3 separate regions of the Homo sapiens genome follow, and all the other regions are linked to region 3. The links are contacts of gene promoters, found by promoter capture Hi-C in blood cells and fetal thymus (Javierre and others, 2016). All regions are on one chromosome and are shown on one strand. Each heading gives the region's core, a stretch centred on a gene start or on the middle of the fragment in contact. The rest is flanking DNA. Distances are from core to core; before and after follow the strand shown. Region 1 overlaps COL25A1 (collagen type XXV alpha 1 chain). Region 2 overlaps ENPEP (glutamyl aminopeptidase). Region 3 holds the start of GAR1 (GAR1 ribonucleoprotein).

Region 1 (2,919 bases), core at 221-2,720, 960 kb before region 3:
ACTAGTTACATAATTAGAAAAAAACACCTATTTATATGCTAAAATATTAACACATTTGAGGTCAAAATAATGTGGAAGGTGCTTCTGGGTAGATTCGGTAAGGCAATGTAAAATTGCTGCCATGCTCCACACTCATCGTATTGGGATGAATTAGCATACGAATATTAGCTTTGTTTCTACATACACTCCTTACCCCTCCACCCCAAAGGCGTTGATTTCCCAAACCCTAAAGAATAAAGCTATATTGTTCAGATAAGGCCAGAGACTTTTAAGAAAATTAGCAATCACTTTTTTCTTGACCTTTTCACTAAGCAGACAAAGTGATTCAACTGGAGCAAATGTAAAAGATTATTAATACAAGAAAACATAAAATTAAGTATCAGATAAAAACAATAGCTACATTAGTACCATTTTGGCTGGCATGCATCAACACCAAATACAAAACCACAAACCACAGAAAGCATGCAATAGGAGTTACCGTGACAGTTAAGGTGGTAATCCTCTGTTGGGAAAATGTGTTGACAAAGACAGAGTTATCTATTTTGTGTGCCAAAGTACAGTAATACATTTGTGAAATAATCAACTTTTTGAATATGTTTGGCTAGTCTGATATCTTAAAAGGATTTGACAAGATACTGAGAACATATTACCCTATCTTCAATACAGTATAGTTGTAGAGATTTTTTAAAAATTATTTTTAGAATCCTATTTAAAAAATCTATGGCTGAAGAAAAAGAAATGTCAAAATTTTAATTCACCTGATTGAAAAAAATAATGCAGTAAAGTCATATATGCTAGAGGCTTGTCAGTATAATTGTGAACTGAGAAATTTTGCTATTGATAAAAGCACTATTCTAGAGAGTACTTCATTAGAGAAAACTGAAATACCCAATTGCATATTTTTTCTCTTTTAGTCTGCAGCTCATTTGTTGCATTAAAACTAACTTTGTGTTTGTGCGTGTGTGTGTGTGCGTGTGTGTGTGCCATAACTAAAGATATTAGTCGACATAGAATTAATCTAATTTCCTTTTTTTTGGCATTCCAATTTTTTTGTGAACTTAATCAGAAAAACAAATGAGTTTTTAAAATTTATTGATTGATTGATTTATTATACTTAAGTTCTGGGATACATGTGCAGAATGTGCACATTTGTTACATAGGTATACATGTGCCATCGTGGTTTGCTGCACCCATCAACTCGTCATCTACATTAGGTATTTCTCCAAATGCTATCCCTCCCCTTGCCCCCCACCCCCTGACAGGCCCTGGTGTGTGATGTTCCCCTCCCTGTGCCCATATGTTCTCATTGTTCAACTCCCACTTATGAGTGAGAATATGTGGTGTTTGGTTTTCTGTTCCTGGGTTAGTTTGCTGAGAATGATGGTTTCCAGCTTCATCCATGTCCCTACAAATGACATGAACTCATTCTTTTTTATGGCTGCATAGTATTCCGTGGTGTATATGTACCACATTTTCTTTATCCAGTCTATCATTGATGGGCATTTGGGTTGGTTCCAAGTCTTTGCTATTGTGAATAGTGCTGCAATAAACACACATGTGCATGTATCTTTATAGTAGACTGGTACCAAAACAAATATATAGACCAATGGAACAGAACAGAGGCCTCAGAAATAACACCACACACCTACAACCATCTGATCTTTGACAAACCTGACAAAAACAAGCAACGTGGAAAGGATTTCCTATTTAATAAATGGTGTTGGGAAAACTGGCTAGCCATATGCAGAAAACTGAAACTGGACCCCTTCCTTAAACCTTATACAAAAATTAACTCAAAACGGATTAAAGATTTAAATGTAAAACCTAAAACCATAAAAACCCTAGAAGAAAACCTAGGCAATACCATTCAGGTCATAGGTATAGGCAAAGACTTCATGACTAAAACACCAAAAGCAGTGGCAACAAGAGCCAAAATTGACAAACAGAATCTAATTAAACTCAAGAGCTTCTGAATAGCAAAAAAACTACCATCAGAGTGAACAGGCAACCTACAGAAAGGGAGAAAATTTTTGCAATCTATCCATCTGACAAAGGGCTAATATCCAGAATCTACAAAGAACTTAAATTTACAAGAAAAAAAACCAATCCCATTGAAAAGTGGGCAAAGGATATGAACAGACATTTTTCAAAAGAACACATTTATGCAGCCAACAAACATATGAAAAAAAGCTCATCATCACTGGTCTTTAGAGAAATGCAAATCAAAACCACAATGAGATACCATCTCATGCCAGTTAGAATGGCGATCATTAAAAAGTCAGGAAACAACAGATGCTGAAAAGGATGTGGAGAAATAGGAACACTTTTACACTGTTTGTGGGAGTGTAAACTAGTTCAACCATTGTGGAAGACAGTGTGGCAATTCCTCAAGGATCTAGAACTAGCAATACCATTTGACCCAGCAATCCTATTACTGGGTATATACTGAAAGAATTAATCTAATTTCTTAAAGTGTTAGAGAACTGTAACAAAATATACCGTGTCTAAGTCTGAATCTCTAAAACATAATTCCTGATCCATGAATCATATTTTTGAATTAACATTTTTCTGGTCTAGGTTCTGTGCTGAAAGTTCTATGGGGTTGATAACCACTTTATGAAATCACAGAGGGGAGAACATTTCCTTTAGGGACTCTGGTCATAGAGAAACATTATTCAATTACATTCAAACTTGTAGGTATCAGTTGAACACCATCCTTCTGTTTTCCACTGTTCCACTCCAATTTCTGATTTGAGCTGTTGTTACTGTTTTTTTTTTTTATTTTTTAAATTGTTGTAAAAGGTAAAATGTCCACAAACTGGGGGCAAGGTTATAAGAAAAAAATAAGGTCCCAGAATTTTACACCACCAGATCTGTGTAACATAATTCCATTCAGTTTATGCTTCAGGAATTCACCTA
Region 2 (2,837 bases), core at 187-2,686, 680 kb after region 3:
CCAGCTACTCGGGAGGCTCAGGCAGGAGAATCGCTTGAACCCAGGAGGCAGAGGTTGCGGTGAGCCGAGATGGTGCCACTGCACTCCAGCCTGGGTGACAGAGCAAGACTCGGTCTCAAAAGTATACATAAATAAATAAGTAAATAAATAATAAATGGCACGAGTGATTTCGTTCCTGAGAAACAAAAATCTCAGGAGCCCTTGAATTTCTTTGGGGGCATTTGGCATCTGTATTTTATAAAGAAGTATGTGCAAAAACAAGAAATTACCTTGTTGGAGATTATTTCAACTCTAGTCAAGTTTTCCTTGGCTTTCCTGAACAGAGGGGGAAGCTGGGAGGAATTATTCACTAAGGGAATGCTGGTGGAAGATATTATCCATTTAATTAGGTTTGTACTATGACCATATTAATTCTAATATATCAGTAGAAGGGATTATGTTGTACTTTCTTCCAAAAATCTTACAGGATGATCGCTGAATAATTGCATCTAGGATTCTCTCTGTGAATGGGTTCTTCCTACTGTCTGTGTCTTCTTACTTGCTTCCATCTTAGTCCGTTGTTTGCCTGGATTAGAAAGATAGGCTGAAGGCAGAGTATGTATGTATATATGCCATGGATTTTTAAAAACAGCCTATCTTTATAACAGTTTTAGGTTTTGTGCCATAGACTTTGATTTATGTATTTCTCTTCATAGAAATAATCTTATTTTTTAAGTTTCATTGCTTTAATGCTCAGAGATATATTTTTAAACTTCTTATTTTGAAATAATTTTAGATTTACAGAGAGTTGCAAAGACACAAGAGTCTCCATGTAACCTTCCCTTAATGTTAATATCTTATATAACCATTTATCAAACATTCGTCAAATCTAAGAAATCAATGTAATACAATACTATTAACTAAACAACAGTCTTTACTTGGATTTCACCAGTTTTTTCACTAATGTGCCTTTTCTATTCCAAAATCCAATAGATGATACATCTACATTATACTTAGCAATGCTGTCTCCTTAATTCATTCTGATATATGACATTTCTCAGTTTTTTTCTTTTTTATGATCCTGACACTTTTTAAGAGTACTGTTCAGGTATTTCGTAGAAAGTTTCTCAGTTTGGGTTTGTGTGATGTTTCCTCAAGATTAGACTGAGGCTTTGGATTTTGGAGAATACCACAGAGGTGAAGGGTCCTTTTCATCACATCCTATCAGGGGGTACATGACATCCTCATGACTTATTCCTGGTGATGCTAACTTTGATCACTTGGTTGAGATGGTGTCTGCTAGGTTTCTCTGCTTCAGTTTACTAGTTTTTTATTCCAATCTTCTGTTTTTTAGAAGCAATCGCTAAATGCAGTCCACACCCAAGGGGAAGAGAGTTAAGCTCTACTTCCTGGAGGGAGGAGTCACAAAGAATTTATGGATATACATTATGACCACCACAGTGATTAATAAATATTTAGGGAGTGATAATTAAAGGCTATGTGAATATCCTGTTAGTTCTTCAGGTTTTGACCACTTATTGTAGCATTCCCCAGTGGATGTCCACAACAACTGTTATTGTGGTGTTCTAAAGGTGATTTTTCTGTTTTCCTCAGAATTATTTTTGACATATGGTCATTTCATTATTTTAAAAACTTATTTTGGCTGTGGCTTTGCTAAGTTTTCAGAATGAATTTGATTTCTAGAACATTTTAATTAGTTTTTTTTAATTAATTTCTTTACTGGAAGGGTTATCTTTAAATGGAAGGTTATTAATCTCCCTTGAAGGAAACTGTTTAATTTAGTAAGCCACGGAGGATTGCTAATGATTCTTATTTTTTATTTAAATTTACAAAAATATAAACAAAATAATAAAAATAATGTAAGATTTTATGGGGTAATTTAGATTTTTTAATGTTCATTTTTTAATTTCTTAAAAATTATACTGCAGTAATAATCACTAAGCATCAGACAACTTAAATTTTAACTTAAATGGAAAGTAAGTGGCCAATAAATGCTTTGTGTAACCTAATGGCCGTGCTGAGTTTCTTCTTAAACAGCAATTCATAGCAGGTGAGTTCCGACTCAGAGTCCGAACATGTTTTGAACCAGCATAGCTACAGCGGAAAAAAAGGTGTTTTTTCACCTAAACTTCAAACCAAGGTTTTGCATATTCATACTAATTTATCTATGAGGAAGGAGCAAACTAAAATTTAGAAAGAATATATCACATTGATAAGGCAGAACTTAAAAAGAAAAAAACTGATGTATCACTATTCCTTTCAACTAAGTACCCTCCTCTGCTAACTTTCCACCTACTACTGGAAGAATATTTAAAAGAACATAAACTTTATAAAATTTAACACATTAATGGCATGTTCAGTAATACCAGCTATGTACCTTAAATATGCATTTATATATTTAAAAACAATATAGATTTATTTTCTCTTTCTCATCCTGGCTACCTCAGTATTGATAATGAAACAGTTTCTTCAAACTGATTATTGTGTACATTTTTATTGAGCATCTACTATGTGCACTGGAGGATGCTAAACCCTGAAGAGAGTGAAATATGCTGATATCTGTACTTCAATTAAGATGTGCACCAGATACAGTCACCACTGCCCTGTGCCACCCAAGTGTGTTTTCAGGTCTTTCTTGGTGTTACTAGCCCTGAGTGCCAAGGATCTCAGCTTGTTTTTGGGGGATCCTTTAAGCATGCTCGTCATTTAAAATGATGTGGCTCTTTGGAACAGCTCAGATGAGACCTTGCAAAAAAAACCTCAAGAGGTAAATGGTGCTACTTCTGCGGGATGATCAGCAGTGAAAAGTCAGGCTGCTGTCAATAAGTAGAGTGACC
Region 3 (2,897 bases), core at 175-2,674:
AAAAGAACAAGTAAAGTTTCCTCTCTCACTTATTTTGTTTTTTGTTTGTTTTGAGACCAAGCCTTGCTCTGTCGTCCAGGCTGGAGTGCAGTGGCGTGATCTCGGCTCACGGCAACCTCCGCCTCCCGGGTTCAAGCGATTCTCCTGCCTCAGCCTCCCGAGTAGCTGCGATTACAGGCGTGTGCCACCATGCCCGGCTGATTTTTGTATTTTTAGTAGAGAAGGGGTTTCACCGTATTGGCCAGGCTGGTCTCGAACTCCTGATCTCAAGTGATCCATCTGCCTTGGCCTCCCAAAGTGCTGGGATTACAGGCGTGAGCCACCACGCCCCGCCTACAAAGGTATTTTAAAATCCCATTTACAATAACCCTCTGAATTAGATAGGTACCAAGTTCCACCCTCTTCTAAACACGAGATCAAATATCAAGGTAAGGTCTCAGAGGGTTTGGGTGTAAAAGACTCCAACCAAATTTAATAAATGGGAAGTCATTACCTTTATTTGTGAGAGAAGCTTTGGAGAATGTGGGGGAAGCTGATGTCAAATATAAAGGGCTTAAAGAGAGAAGAGGGAGAGGAGCTTTCAGCACAGTCCAGTTCACAGCCCGTCGGTGCTCAAAACATACTTGAATACCTGGTACAAAAGATAAAAATGATGGTTTGGTTTTCTATAAGACAGCATAGTTTCTTTAAAATTACACACACACATGCATTGCTTTTCTTCCTTTAATTAGTTGAGACCATAGGACAAAAGAAGAGGCATAGTTGAGCGCGTAATGGTGCGAAAATCAAAAGGTTGGGAAGAAACAAGAAACTCAGATAAACGCTTCCGTCGGCTGTGACAGGTTCTGAGGCGCCCAGATCTACTGGACATAGCGCGGCTCAGAAGCCTCAGAGACCTGTCCGCACAGTTCCTGAAGTTAGCAACAAATTAGTGAGTGCTGTTGCGGGCCATTTTGCAGCCAGAGAAGCAAATGCGCAAATGCGCCCAGCCAGTCAGCACGGACTTCAAGAACCAACTTCATTCCTTGCAAGGTGCTTTAGTTCTGGCCGTTAGGGCGGCAACCAAACAGAAACCTGCCCCGCCTCTGGGAGAGAAGGCGGATCCCTAACGCCAGCTATCTCCAAGAGCAACATTGCCGCAGCACTTCCGGGACGTCGTGCTGCAAAGGACGCCGCTGTTATACGTCACTTCCACGGCTCAGCGTCAGGCAAGTTGGCCTCTCTGTTGTAAATTAGTGGTTAAGGTTATCTATTATTGCCACTTTTCCAGCGCTAAAGGCTGTTTTGGAACCAGTGTTGCTTGTTCCGCGGGTGATTGGCTTTTTTTTTTGGCAAACCAGTTATTCAAGTTTCTGGTCTTTAAAAAACTCTGTGGCGGTACGGTAACCGAGGAGGTTCCAGCGCGGCGGAAGTACCCCGCGGGTGGGTGTGTGCGCAAGGCCAGGGCCAGAGGGGCACGTGGCGCCGGTGAGTGGCCGTAGAAGCCGGAGGATTTGAAAATGCTGGACGTGGAACCCAACTGCCGGAGGGAGGGAGGAAGGAAGGGGATGCGGTGCGAAGACCTTGCTGTCTGTAGGGGGAGGAGATACTAATCATGGGGCGGCAAGGGTGGTGTGTGGTCGGTCGGCGCTCACGAGACCATGGAGAAGTAAACTCTTCACCCATCAGGTTGGTGGTCACTGGCTGTCTGACCGTGGGTGAGGTGACAGGGCTGCTTTTGTCTCCTTTATGGTGTTCTCACCGCAGCTCCGAGGGGTTGGAGTATACTCAGAGGCTACAGTGATCAGAAGACATAGGTCGTTTTTTTTTCATCAGGGAGGAGAGAGAATGTCTTTTCGAGGCGGAGGTCGTGGAGGCTTTAATCGAGGTGGTGGAGGTGGCGGCTTCAACCGAGGTGGCAGCAGCAACCACTTCCGAGGTGGAGGCGGCGGTGGAGGCGGCGGCAATTTCAGAGGCGGCGGCAGGGGAGGATTTGGACGAGGGGGTGGCCGCGGAGGCTTTAACAAAGGCCAAGACCAAGGACCTCCAGAACGTGTAGTCTGTATGCAGTCTTCAGTATTTAGCTTATTTGAAGGAGTAGGTGTGGGTTGGGGGTTTGTGTTGTTAGGCAGCAAGTTTGGGATACACAAGCCTGTGTGGAGAATGTAGCATGTAAGGGTGGAGTGGGGAGATCAAGAAAGCTGAGGGATACTTAGAATGCATCTTGGAGGTGGAACTTGAGGGTTGACAGGAAGATATTAAATAGGTAATCGTGAGTACTTATGCCTAATTCCCCGATTTTACAGATGAGAAAACTATGATTTAGAGTTAAGTTTTTTTGCTGGGGTCATAAGGTTAGTGATAAGTGATCAATTAGTGATATAGCTGAAATACAGGCTGGGTGCGGTGGCTCACGCCTGTAATCCCAACACTTTGGGAAGCTAAGACGGGAGGATCTTTTGAAGCCGGGAGTTAGAGACCAGCCTGGATAATAAAGCAGGAGACCCTGTCTGTACAGAAAAGAAAGAAATACAAAGCCAAGTATTCTGACTCCAAAGCCCATGCTTTCTGTTACTACTCAAAAGTAGATAAGTGAGAAAACAATTTGCTTGAGAGGGAAACTGCCAGAGAGGAAATCTAGAAAAACACCTATTTAGGGTAGTTTTAGAGTAATTAACAATGAGATGGGAATGGAAGTCACAGAAAGTGAAACTTACTACATTAAAGAGGAGAGAGGGTGAGTAGTGTCTAACTAAGAATGGCTTGGATGAGTATGCAGGATGGTTTGAAAGGAGCAGTTTCTAGAATAAAAGGTCCCAGCCCACAAGCTGTTGTACCAGTCCATACATGAGACCTTGAGAGCCTGAATCAGGATGGTGACAGTGAGGAAAAAAAAGGAAGGGTTAGATAGGAGAGAG

Evidence for each region. The method cuts DNA at HindIII sites, captures the fragments that hold promoters and counts their contacts. A CHiCAGO score of 5 or more calls a contact.
Region 1: a contact is called between a fragment that was not itself captured here and the fragment with the promoter of GAR1 in region 3, in 1 of 17 cell types (fetal thymus). The highest score is 5.0, in fetal thymus.
Region 2: a fragment that was not itself captured here is called in contact with the fragment with the promoter of GAR1 in region 3 in 1 of 17 cell types (monocytes); the score reaches 6.8 in monocytes.

What each region holds. Positions count from the first base shown.
Region 1 is chr4:108,852,424-108,855,342 of GRCh38, forward strand. It overlaps COL25A1 (collagen type XXV alpha 1 chain), which reads right to left. Exons shown (of 38, transcript NM_198721.4): 25 at 479-502. Among named protein-coding and RNA genes, the nearest start is that of ETNPPL, 91 kb to the left of the region's middle. The HindIII fragment of the contact is 4,532 bases long and covers 1-2,919 here.
Region 2 is chr4:110,495,604-110,498,440 of GRCh38, forward strand. The region is part of intron 3 of ENPEP (glutamyl aminopeptidase); the gene reads left to right. Among named protein-coding and RNA genes, the nearest start is that of ENPEP, 21 kb to the left of the region's middle. The HindIII fragment of the contact is 8,500 bases long and covers 1-2,837 here.
Region 3 is chr4:109,814,338-109,817,234 of GRCh38, forward strand. GAR1 (GAR1 ribonucleoprotein) reads left to right here and starts at 1,425. Exons shown (of 7, transcript NM_018983.4): 1 at 1,425-1,467; 2 at 1,816-2,041. The coding sequence starts at 1,828. GAR1-DT (GAR1 divergent transcript) reads right to left here and starts at 1,045. Exons shown (of 2, transcript NR_186620.1): 1 at 494-1,045. RefSeq lists enhancers at 801-900, 1,071-1,470, 1,481-1,530, 1,881-1,930, 2,101-2,170. The HindIII fragment of the contact is 3,017 bases long and covers 510-2,897 here.